2 separate regions of the Homo sapiens genome follow, and region 1 is linked to region 2. The links are contacts of gene promoters, found by promoter capture Hi-C in human tissues and cell types (Jung and others, 2019). All regions are on one chromosome and are shown on one strand. The core of a region is centred on a gene start or on the middle of the fragment in contact, and the rest is flanking DNA. Distances in the headings are between cores, read along the strand shown.

Region 1 (6,226 bases), core at 2,865-5,364, 110 kb before region 2:
GCTAATTTTGTATTTTTAGTAGAGACGGGGTTTCTCTCTGTGTTGGTCAGGCTGATCTCAAACTCCTGACCTCAGGTGATCCATCCGCCTTAGCCTCCCAAAGTGCTGGGATTACAGGCATGAGCCACTGTGCCCGGCCAAAGCAAGGCTGGGCATGGCAGCTCATGCCTGTAATCCCAACAGTTTGGGAGGCTGAGGTGGAAGGACTGTTCAAGGCCAGGAGTTTGAGACTCTGTCTCTTAAAATATATATATATATATTTTAAAATCCATTTTGACTTACAGTATTTTCAATTTATGATGGGTTTACTGGGACAAAGTTCTATCATATAAGTTGAGGAGCATCTGTATAAAAATCCGTATTTCACTACAACTTAACACAGTGGGAGAAAGAGGGATCAGGTTCACCCTGCCAGAGAGGAATGATCGTTAATAACACACCTTCTTTTTTTTCTTTTTCTGGGTTTTTCGACTTGCAGAACTCTGGAGGAGGGCCTGGAAAACAGGAAGAAGGGAAAAAAATTTTGAGAAATGTGGAGGAAATTAAAAATAAAGGGTTACTTTCAGTACTGCAGCTCTTTTCAGGACTTTGCTGGCATTTAGCCCTCACTCCCAAGCAGGATACCATGTACATACTCACCACCTTCTATTCCATACTAACCTTTAGCTCTGCATCCTGGACCTCCATCTCAGACTTGTAGAGGTCAGGCTCGAAGGGACCACTGGTTATCCGCATGGGGCCATTGGGCATGAGCAGAACTGTAAATTTAAACTGGGCAACAAATTCACCTATGGCAAAAATGAAGATGTGTTTTGATAAAAAGTTCCTTTGTCATACTTAGCTCTTCTGAACTTACAGGAAGGATATCTTATAATCAGGGAATCCAAAGTGAAGCTCTTTTTGGAACTCACCCTCCTTCTCATAGAGAACATTAAATGGTTGCAGCAGTTCATGTTTGGCGCACTCCACCACACCCATCCGAGCCTTCTTCTCATCTTCAAATGCTCTGGCAGGGAAGATGATATTCAGAGGTATCTTTAACTCCCCATCAAGTCTTACCATTTTGCTCATATTTTAAAATAGCTCCTACCCTCAGGCAGAAATCATGCTTAGGATTGCTCTTTTACATTACCTTCAATGAGAAGGAGATGGGGAGAGAGAGGGAGGGAGTGAGCACATGCACGCTACAAGTCTAGGCAGGAAGGGAGAGGAAAAAGTGTTCCTGGGTGTATGGTCTGTGAGTCAGACTGGTTCCAAGTACTATCATTGCTTAGTACCTTAAAGTAAACGGCATGGCATCAAAACGCCTTTCCACCTCACTGAAGAAGGCACGTGAAGTTTTCATTTTCAGTCCATACTGTTTAGAGGGGTCTCGTTTGTAAATAGTGGTTCTCTGTCCTGCATCCTTGGCCTGAAAGAGTAATTTAAGTAACATTTGGTCTGGTGAACACTCTCAGTCACCCCTCTTTGCCAACTCTGGTACTCTCCTCACCTTGCCCTCTCCTGAGCTGACGAGAACATCCACAGCATATACTTCATGTACCTCAAATTCAGCTTTTTCATGGTCCTTCCTAAAAGGAATAGAGAGAAAGGAATTTTTTTTTTTTTTTGACACAGAGTCTCATTCTGTCACCCAGGCTGGAGTGCAGTGGCACAATCTCAGCTCACTGCAACCTCCACCTCCCGGGTCCAAGCAACTCTCCTGCCTCAGCCTCCCAAGTAGCTGGGACTATAGGCACAAACCACCAGGCCTGGCTCATTTTTGTAGTTTTTAGTAGAGACAGGGTTTCGCCATGTTGGTTAGGCTGGTTCTGAACTCGTGACCTCAGGTGATCCACCCGCCTCAGCCTCCCAAAGTGCTGGGATTACAGGCGTGAGCCACCGCGCCCGGCCTAGAGAAAGGGAATATTAAGAGCAACAGGTCACTCCTGAAAACATGGAGTAGAGGGCGGACAAGATTCAGTTGGGAGTATAGAAAAAAACCTGATGACTAGTCTTGTGTGGTAGAAGGTAATAAGTAGGGTTGGCACCTACTTCTGCTGGTCTGTGGGATTCTGGATAATGGTTTTTTCTCCATCGATGACATGCTGCTTCAACTGGTGTGACAGCATACCTGTAGATAGTACACAACCTATGGAACAAGCTATCCAGTATCCCAAAAGGTTTCCAAATCCACCCACTTCAGTAGTTTGAAGTGGTAGGCAGTGAGACAACTACCTGGTTATGGAAACACAGGGCTCTGAGATTTCTGGCTTAGACTGGGTTATAGCCAGGATAGATCTTCAAGGGAGCAAAAGCCTCAATTCTGCAAAGCCACTCATTCTTTTTTTTTTTTTTTTTGAGATGGAGGAGATGGAGTTTCGCTCTTATTGCCCAGACTGGAGTGCAGTGGCGCAATCTTGGCTCACTGCAACCTCCTCCTCCCGGGTTCAAGCGATTATCTCGCCTTAGCCTCCCAAGTAGCTGGGATTACAGGCACCCACCACCACGCCCAGCTAATTTTTATATTTTTAGTAGAGACGGGGTTTCACCATGTTGGCCAGGCTAGTCTCAAACTCCTGACCTCAGGTGATCCGCCCACCTCAGCCTCCCAAAGTTCTGGGATTACAGGCGTGAGCCACCGCACCTGGCAAAGCCACTCATTCTTAGACCCTCAACCCTGTTATCTGTTCTCACCTTCTATTGGCGTGCAGTTAAATGAGTGGGCAACTTTGTTCCAGGCTTCTGTCACTTGTGTGTTCTAGAAGTACAACATCAAATGAAAGGTGAGATATCAGGAGCTAATAAGTTCTCTACAATGAGAATAAGAAGCATAAAAGAACTGAGCGTTTTTTTTTTTTTTTTTGAGATGGAGTCTGGCTTTGTCACCAGGCTGGAGTGCAGTGGCGTGATCTTGGCTCACTGCAATCTCTGCCTCCCGGGTTCAAGCTATTCTCCTGCCTCAGCCTCCTGAGTAGCTGGGATTACAGGCACGCAACACCACGCCCAGCTAATTTTTGTATTTTTAGAAGAGACGGGGTTTCACCATGTTGGCCAGGATGGTCTCGATCTCCTGACCTCGTGATCTGCCCACCTCAGCCTCCCAAAGTGCTGGGATTACAGGCATGAGCCATTGCACCTGGCAGAACTGAGCGTTCTAATATCCTCCATCAAGCCCCAATGATTGTCATTCACTGGTTTTTCATTTCATAGCTTGATTATCCCTACAATCTAAAAATACTTTATACAGATGCTCCCCAACTTGCAATGGGGTTACATCTCCAAAAAACTCATAAGTTGAAAATATCACTAAGTCAAAAATGCATTTAATACCCCTAACCTACCTAACATCACAGCCTAGCCTATGTTAAATGTGCTCAGAGCACTTAAAAAACATTATCCTACAGTTGGGCAGAATTATCTAACACATGCCTATTTTATATTAGTGTTGAATATCTCATGTAATTTACTAAATACTATATGGAAAATGAAAAACAGAATGGTTGTATGGGTACTCAAAGTATAGCTTCTACTGAATGTAGCATCAAGCTGAGGACCAGCTGTAACTGCATATCATTTTACCCAGTGCTTTCACAAAGATGGTCTAACTCAATAAATTTTGCATGTGAACAGGGCAGATGTATATCCCAATCTAGAAGACAAGGAAACTGAGTCTCAGGTTAAATGATTTGCCCCAGGTTAAATGAGTGTTAAGTGAAAGAACTTGGTCATAAACCTGGGTTTTCTTTTTTCTTTTTGTAGACGGGTCTCGCTATGTTTCCCAAGCTGGTCTCAAATGCCTGGGTTCAAGCAATCCTCCCACCTTGGCCTCCCAAAGTGCTGGGATTACAGGCATGTGCCACCACATGCCTATAATATTAAGTCCAGTGTTTATCCTTTTTTACCTGGCATTCTAATCTGTTTTGTGGGGACAGCAAATGCTTATTTTTCCTTTTTCTTTTGTGAGACAGGGTTTCATTGTTGCCCAGGCTGGAGTGCAGTGGCATGATCATAGCTCAGCACAGCCTCAATCTCCCAGGCTCAGGTGATTCTCCCACCTCAGCCTCCCTGGAAGCTGGGAATACAGGCACATGTTACCACGCCCAGCTAATTTTTGTATTTTTTGTAGAAATGGGGTTTCACCATGTTTCCCAGGCTGGTCTTGAACTCCCAGCCTCAAGCTATCCTCCTACCTTGGCCCCCCAAAGTGATGGGATTACAGATGTGAGTCACTGTGCCCAGCTAAATATAGCTAATTTTAAAAAGCTGTTTTATAAGGGGTCTGTAGGGGAGGTTGGTAGTTTCATATAGAGTAGCTATAGGTGCCTAATGCATCTTTGGTTCAAACGAGCTTTGGAATTGGATAAAATAGCTTACCTGATTTCCAGGTTTGACCAGGCGTAGGGCAGCTTCAGCACAAAGGTGAGCTGCCTTAATAACATCTGCTTTCCTCCCTGTTACTTGGGTCCCCTGTAGATAAGGACATGCAATCAGTATCTTCCTGGAAAGTCTGTTAACTCAGCTGGCTATCTGGTTAATATCTGTGAGCCCATATGCGAAGACCAGCCAATGAACAGGAGGGTAAAAACAACAACAACAACAAAAACCTTTCTCCTTTTGCTTCTCTAGAGACTCTCTCAACTTACGTGGTGATTGGGGGTGGGGATAAGAAGCAAATGGCAGTGCATTCCCTCTACCCCAAGGCTAAACAGAGATCAAAAGCAGGCCACCTACCTGAGCTACATCAACCACAAAAGTGTGAGCTACATTAGCGATGAAGCCATCCACATGGACCCCAAGGTCACTGAAAGGCAAGATCAGAGTACTGCATTAGGAACTGGCATTTTGTAAATGCTTTAAAAAAAGAAAAATGCTTTAAAACGGTTTAACCTTACATTTTTACCAAGTCACCTTCCTTGAGAATATAATCCTGGTCGCTCTTCAAAGGGGAGAAGTGACATACACAGTTATTTACCGAAATGCTGGTGGGAAAAGCAATACCTGTAAAGAAAGAATCATCAGCCTACTGCCTTGCTGTCTCCCGGGAGCCCTAGTGCCCTTCAGAAATGTAGAAGGATTTTTTCAGGGTCTTGCTTAAGTTTCATCAGTTTGGATTAGGTAGGAAACTGCTTGTATCCCACTTGCCATTCCAAATTTCCAAATACCTCAGCCAGAGCTGGGGTGGGGACTGCGTCATTACAGTGAAAAAAATAAAAACATATAGGACCAAATAAGGGTCAAACGGAAAATTAGTGAGGGATTTTTTTTTTTTACCTTTCTTCATTTCCTTTTCTTTCTTGAAGATTTTCCCTGTTTCTTCCATAATCATGGCATCACCTTTCTCACACAGGCTCAGTACCGACACACCTGAGCTAGATGCTTCCACCAAGGACCGAAGTACCCCTGAGGACAGAATCCCATCATGTCAGCCTTGTATGTATTCATTGTCTAGTTACCACCCAAGGAATACCTGGAAGTTGAATTTAAGAGTTTCCATAATACTCCCTGGTGCCATTGCCCTGAGGCTGAAAGGTCAACATTCCCTTCTCTTCCTTACATTATGTGACAACTGGGTATATACAATCCATCTCCCTAGGCAAGGCCTCAGACTTTCCAAAGATGCTACCTTTGGTGTGACAGGACAGAGTTATGAACTTCAGAGGGTTCTTGCCATGGTATCCCCACATACACGCAAAGACTAGATGAAATTTATAGGCATCAGGGACAAGAAGGTAGACAGAATTGCTGACTCGAAGCCGATGCACTGTTAAATGTTACCGCATTCCTTTCTCAGACACTCTAATTAGGTGTTAGGAATCTCAATCTATATAGACTTATTTCCTCATAAACAAGTGCATAAGCCAAGGAAACTTAATCTAAGGTCCCTGGGTTTCATTTCGGGGGATCATGGCTTATCTAAAAGAAATATGAGGCCAAAGTTATAAACTGTAAGAGATTTTCTGATTCAAACCACTAGTATCTCAAATACTAAAAGGCACCAAAAACCAGGGTACGATACTAAATGTCCACTGTGATATAAAGCACAGGTTTGACTTTTGGTATCTCAGTTTTGGTGATTCTTTGAAAGCTGGTAAAACTCAGATTTTCACCCACAGGACGGGAGGCATCCTAAATACCTGTTCCCCACCATCTTTGCTGTTAAAACCATTTAAAAGCACAATGACAAGCAGTTTGTATCTCCCTAACTGGAATAAAATGGAAAGGCTAACTGGAAAGAGAGAAAAGA
Region 2 (6,342 bases), core at 694-3,193:
CCACTGCACTTCAGCTTGGGCAACAGAGAGCGAGACCCTGTCTCAAAACAAAAACAAAAAAAAGTTATATGAATGTGGTCTCTCTCTCAAAATATACTTTTTTTTGGCCAGTCATGGTGGCTCATGCCTATAATCCCAAAATTTTGGGAGGCCAAGGAAGGAGGATCACTTGACTCCAGGAGTTCAAGACCAGCTTGGGCAACATAGTGAGACTGTGTCTCTAGAAAAAAAAAAACAAATTAACTGGGCATGGTGGTGCCTGTCTGTAGTCTCAGCTACCGGGGTGGTGGGGAGAGGAGTGCTGAGATGAGAGGATGGCTTGAGTCCAGGAGGTCGAGACTGCAATGAATTATGATGGCGCCACCGTACTCCAGCCTGGGCAACAGGGCAAGACCTTGTCTCAAAAAAAAAAAAAGCCTGGGCGATGGAGCAAGTGTCGATCATGGCTCACTGAAGCTTCAACCTCTTGGGCTCAAGCCATCCTCCTGCCTTAGCCTCCCCAGCAGCTGGGACTACAAGTGTGTGTCACCAAGCCTGGCTAATTTTTCTGTAGACATGGGAGTCTATGTTGTCAGGGCTGGTCTTGAACTCCTGGCCTCTTGCTGCCTTAGCCCCCAAAGTGCTGGGATTACAGGCATGAGCCACTGTCCGGCTTCCCCTCCCCTCCCCCTGCCCCTGACAGGGTCTTGCTCTGCCCAGGCTGGAGTGCAGTGGCGTGATCTCAGCTCACTATAGCATCAAACTTCTGGGCTCAAGCCATCCTCCTGCCTCAACCTCCTGAGTAGCGGGGACCACAGGCGTGTGCCACCATGCATGGTCTTTTTTTTTTTTTTTTTGTAGAGATGAGGTCTTACTATGTTGCCCAGGCTGGTCTCAAACTCCTGGGTTCAAGTGATCCTTCAAACTTGGTCTCACAAAGTCCTGGGATTATTACAGGCATGAGCCACCACTCCCAGCCTCAAAATATCTTATTGTACTGTGTTCAACTATTTTCCAAGCGGTTGACCATAGCTAACTGAAACTCAGGAAAAGGAAACTTTGGATAAGGGGAGACTGCTGTAATAACATTGTCTTTGAAGGCTTTTCAGTCCCCAACTCTCCCTCCATTCACCCTAAAAAAAATTGAACCCAGCTGGGAACTGGACCCCAACCTAGGGTCCCGGACCACCTCAATCTTCTCTGTGCCACTGTAGTGAGCTCAGCAAATTGAGGAGTTAATGGCCAGAGTGTCAGGGGCAGGCTGGAGAAGGAAGGTAATTTTTCTGCTCTCTGCCCTGCAAGTTTCTTCCTCAAATTGCTGAACAGAGAGCACTGACCCAGCAGGGCCAAAGTGAGGAGGGGTGACAAATGTCTAAACTGCTGATGAGATGCTGGAGACCAATGTGCTGGGGTGGGTGGGTCGTGGGTAGGGAGGAAAGGAAACCTAGAGATGGGAATAGGAGCAGTCTTCACCTTGCCCCTGGGCCATGGGACCATTACTCTCTCTGCCACCTACCTCAATGCCAGCAGCCTGTTTGTACTAGACCAGAGCAGTGCAGGTAGGGCTGACTCGCAGGTGAACTCAGTGAGCCCAGAATCCCAGGTTTGGGAGGGACAGCCTTTTGCTGTAATACAGAAATGCCACCCGTTGGTGCAGGTGATGACCCCTCACTCCCCATGGGCACGTTAGGTAGGAACATACGTCCGGCATCCAGGCACAAAAGGGTCTTGCGGCAACACCCCGCGATCTCAAGAGCACCCAGACAGAAGGAGTGGAGGCAGGTACTGATAGTTTTGTTGCCCTTGAGGTTCGGAGCACAGCTGGACACCAAGGCCCCCTCCGCTGCCCAGCTCAGCAGCCCTTCCTCCCCAGCTTCTTTACCACCCCCAGTCTCCTTACCGGGTCCAGTGTCTTCAGCACTGCAATTTTACCAGCCCAGCTCTGCGAGTTCTCGAGAAGGGGCGGGGCCAGCGCCGTTATGTCCGGCTGCAGTAAGTGACCTCTCACTCCCCTCAGCTTATCCCTCAGCCATTGGCTGGAAGCGGGTGGCTCAACCATTGGCTGGAACCCGCCTCCTGGAGCCGAGACAGGCAGGTTGCTAAGAAGCCTGGGAGAAGAGGCTGGCTCTTTTTGCTGTCACTCTCGCCAACAGTCCGGAGTCCATTATACCCCTGGTGTGCAAAGAATGGGACCCTTGTGCACCAGGGCTGTATGTCCGGAGCTCGGGCAGTGTGGAAGGTGACAAGGAATCCAAAAGTTGGGCTGACAGGTGGGAGATTTTGAGACACCCCTGCCGCCCCTCCCTGGAGGAGGCCTCGGGATCCAGTCCGGTTTTCCCCGGCTGTGATCTCCACTTTAAACCCAGGGTAGACCTACCTCTATCTACTCTGTTGCAACTACAACTACCCTGTTTATCTTTTAGGGAAAGCAAAGTCAATCGCTTAGTTCTCGTATTCCAGGAATGATAACAGAAATGCCTAAAATAGTGGTTCCAAGAATTTGAGATTCCTTGGGCTAGTCGAATTTCTCCCCAAACAAAAATGAAACAACAACACTGAATAGCCGTCTTTTATTTTGCGTAGAAAAAAAAAATAATAATCGCCCCTTGGTGGCACACGCCTGTAGTCCCAGTACTCGGGAGGCTGAGGCGGGAGGATCGCTTAAGCCCAGGAGTTCGAGGTTGCACTGAGCCAAGATCGCGGCACTGCACTCCAGCCTGGACAACAGAGCAAGACCCCATCTCTTAAAAAACAAACTGCCCCTTAACAAGAGCAATGGCAGCTTAACACCCCGAAGTATGAAGGTTGTAGTCTCTTATCTCAAAGTAAGGGGCATAAATATAATACATTTCCTATTACCCTTTTGTCATTTGATGCAGGACAAAATTTATCAAACCTAGTCCCCCAATCTGGACAAATGTATCCATACACTGCCCTCTAGAGGCCGGACGGTGGAGCTGCAATTTTAATCAGTTTAAGTGAAGGTGTTCACCTTTAATTTTGAAAGATCATTTCCTTTCCTTTCGGCTCTCCAACTAGAGCTTTTACCAGGAATCAGGGAACGGGGGTGGGGGGTATTACCAAGAGATATAAGGTAAGGGAACCGACAGTGAAAAGTTGGCAAGTTGGCTTTGGCTCTTAAGTGTTTGGAAATGGAAAGGATTTCAATCTGTATACAATCAAATCACTGAAGAAGGCTAATGCCCAACCTATCCTACCAGTTGTTAAAAAAAAAATATATATATATATATATATGTATATATATATGGAGAGAGAGAGAGTGAGAGAGAGAGAGAGAGGGAGAAAGAGGGAGAGAGAGAGAAAGCGAGCTTCAACCTAAAAAAAAAAAAGTCTCAGCCAAAGGAAGATACAGAGAAGTCAGTTAGGGACTATCTAAAAGCCTCCTTCCTAATAGTGTCATCTACTTTTGTGTGACACACATACTTTACATAATTGACCTTAATCTTCAGCTTTTACTTTACAGATGAAGAAACGAGGCGGAAGGCACTAACTAACTTGATCAAGGCCACAGCTGGTTAAGTTGACAGAGACAGGCCTAGAATGTCAGATTTGTCTGGCACCAGTCCTCTTTCCTATCCACCTTCAGATTCTTTGGAATTTAAAGCCTACTGCAACCACACATAATCCTATTTCATTTCCCTTCCCTCGACCTTTAGACTGTGGTGGACTGAAGGGTTTGAAGTACACTAGGAGTCAAGAGCAGATCCAGAGGAAATTTTCCCGTTGAGGTGGAAGCTACAAGAAAACTAACTCAGTGATGTTTTTCAACCTTTGGGTCATGGACCCCTTTGAGAAACATATAGAAATGGATCCTAGAAATATGCACATACGGCCGGGCGCAGTGGCTCACGCCCGTAATCCCAGCACTTTGGGAGGCCAAGGTGGGTGGATCACGAGGTCAGGAGTTCAAGACCAGCCTGACCAACATGGTGAAACCCCGTCTCTACTAAAAATACAAAAATTAGCTGGGTGTGTTGGTGCGTGCCTGTAATCCTAGCTACTCAGGAGGCTGAGGCAGGAGAATCACTTGAACTCAGGAGGCGGAGATTGCTGTGAGCCAAGATCGTGCCACTGTACTCCAGGCTAGCGACAGAGACTCCGTCTCAATTAAAAAAAAAAAAAGAAATATGCACATACATTTTTGTATACTACTTCAAATAGCACCCCTCTCTCTAATCTGATCAGTGGGCCCAAAGATCCACAGACCATACCCTACACATATACATTCTGTTAAGAGGGCCTAAAAAGATATAATAGGGTTTGATTTGATGAACAATCTAGTGGCCTTAGAAGAGGGGTGATTAAATAGCAATAGAAGGGCTATTTTCTAAACTAGATGTTTAAGAAAAGATTAAAGGGAATAAAGATGTATCAAGATGCAGGGAAAGGTGTGTTTCTGATTCAGTAGAACATTACTGGGTATCCTTTCTTCCAAATTCCTAGTACCTGACAAATAGCAAAAATAATAATAATAATAACAATAAAATAAAAAAAAGCAACACTCCAATGCCCTTTTCTTTTTTTCCTTTTTTTACTTACATTAAATACATCGGTAAATCAGCAGTCGCATTCTGTTACCACGATTGTTATGTTGGGAGAGGAAGAAAGGCAAATGCTTTCTCAGAAGCAAAACAAAAACAAAAAACCACAACACCCCCCCTTAAAAAAACTGACCAGAAGAAAAAAATGAGCTGGGAAATAAACAAAAGAAAACTAAGATCCCCAAGCCCAACAGAGCTCAAAGGAAGGCAGAAGAGGTGGTAGGAAGTAGAGGGAAGGCAGCCGATAGGCCCAGAAGCTAAGGCCAAATCCTGTTCCTATGGGGGTGGGGGGAGGGAGAAGCCTGGGGAAGTGGTTTCCCAGGCCCAAGATAATGAAACATCTTCACTCCTGCTCCAAGGGGGAAAGCTGCACAGAGAAAGAACTTCATTTCTAGAAGACTTTGGAAAGCCATCCTAGTTCTTCCACTTGTAAAAAGGATGCACTGGGTGCTATGGGGGGCCAGTGGCTTCTGGGAAAGGAAGGGGGAAATGTGTGTGTTTCAGGGCCATGGGAACTAAGGCTGCCCCTGGAAAAGGAAGGGAATTGAGGCCTAAGTGGAAGAACCTAAGCTGGGTCCTTCAGAATCTCAGCTTCATAGATTTCTCAGCTGTTCTGGGATAGAAGGCAGTCTGCAAGCCAAAAGGGCAGGAAGGTTCCAATCCTAGGTCACTGTGACCTTTCCTTTCTTTCTTTCCCAAAACTCCGGGCTGGAACAAGGAACTTAAAGTTCTCTTTTGCCTTGATGGCTTCTCAGAGACATCTTAAAACACCTGATGAAGGATATGAAGAGAGACTAGAGATTTAGAAAGGACCAAGGTCCTCTGATAATATGAGCCAGTTGTAAGGTACCTTCAGTGCCGGTCATTCCCTCTCCACAGGAACAGGTGGTATGATACGAGGGCACCACAGGAGGCCTCTGTGGTACTAGCCCCTATTGGTACATGGATTAAACCACTGGTTGCATGATGGGGAGGGATGGGGGGATTAAGGATGGAGGGACTAAATTCAAGATATTAACAAAGGAACAAAGAAACAGGGCCTGATGGGAGGCAGAGGATAGAACAGACTGTACAGTGGGAATAAAGATCATACCTATTTACAAGGAAGTAGAAAAGACATGGTAATGGATATCAAATTGAGTGTGAAACCTGGGAAAGGACAGAAAACTCCTCCCTTTTGCCTGACCTCCTTTTTACTCCCCTACCTTGGCCTGTGCTATCCTGAGACACTCCTCAATTGCTCAATTAATTCTCCAGGAAAGGCAAACCTATAGTCAATAGTTAGCTTGGCAAGAATATAGGTTAATAATTAGAGTTGGAGGAAGCTAACAGTGGAGATAGGACTTGAGTAGCTGCCACTGGTAGTTTTATCTATAACCTCTCCTCGAACCTCGCATTAACCTCAGATTTCATTGAATTAAAAAGAAGGTGGGAGGGCAAGTAAATCAATCAAAACTTCCATAAAACAAGTACCCCAACTGAACTACCATCAATTAAAGTGCAAACTGCAGGGGTATATGGTGGCTGGGGCTGAGGCCATCTAAAGGCCAGAGGGGAAAAAATGCATATGTATAAATCAGAGGATGGGTACCAGAAACTGTCCCTCCTCCAATCAGATCACAGCAGAGCCAAAGATGCAGGCAACCAGTGAAAATTCTTTGGAAGACTCTGGGGTCCAACCCCCACGATTAGGGGAAACGCTACCTAAGAGGCTGCGTGAGGGGAAACTGGGCCTTTGAAGAGTTACAGAGCCACAGTTGACACTGCACCTCCACCTCCGCCCAGTTAGCTTACAAGGCAC

Evidence for each region. The method cuts DNA at HindIII sites, captures the fragments that hold promoters and counts their contacts. A contact is called where the count stands out against the background at its distance.
Region 1: a contact is called between a fragment that was not itself captured here and the fragment with the promoter of SUOX in region 2, in 3 of the 25 tissues and cell types used here (IMR-90 fibroblasts, bladder and dorsolateral prefrontal cortex).

The regions. Positions count from the first base shown.
Region 1 is chr12:56,105,744-56,111,969 of GRCh38, reverse strand. It overlaps PA2G4 (proliferation-associated 2G4), which reads right to left. Exons shown (of 13, transcript NM_006191.3): 2 at 5,254-5,382; 3 at 4,875-4,980; 4 at 4,714-4,783; 5 at 4,357-4,449; 6 at 2,677-2,740; 7 at 2,035-2,113; 8 at 1,493-1,571; 9 at 1,278-1,411; 10 at 912-1,006; 11 at 661-788; 12 at 441-494. Among named protein-coding and RNA genes, the nearest start is that of PA2G4, 4.3 kb to the right of the region's middle. The HindIII fragment of the contact is 6,733 bases long and covers 748-6,226 here.
Region 2 is chr12:55,992,877-55,999,218 of GRCh38, reverse strand. SUOX (sulfite oxidase) reads right to left here and starts at 1,943. Exons shown (of 5, transcript NM_001032386.2): 1 at 1,880-1,943; 2 at 1,496-1,604. It overlaps RAB5B (RAB5B, member RAS oncogene family), which reads right to left. Exons shown (of 6, transcript NM_002868.4): 6 at 2,536-6,342. RefSeq lists a silencer at 1,894-2,083 and an enhancer at 1,669-2,169. The HindIII fragment of the contact is 9,188 bases long and covers 2-6,342 here.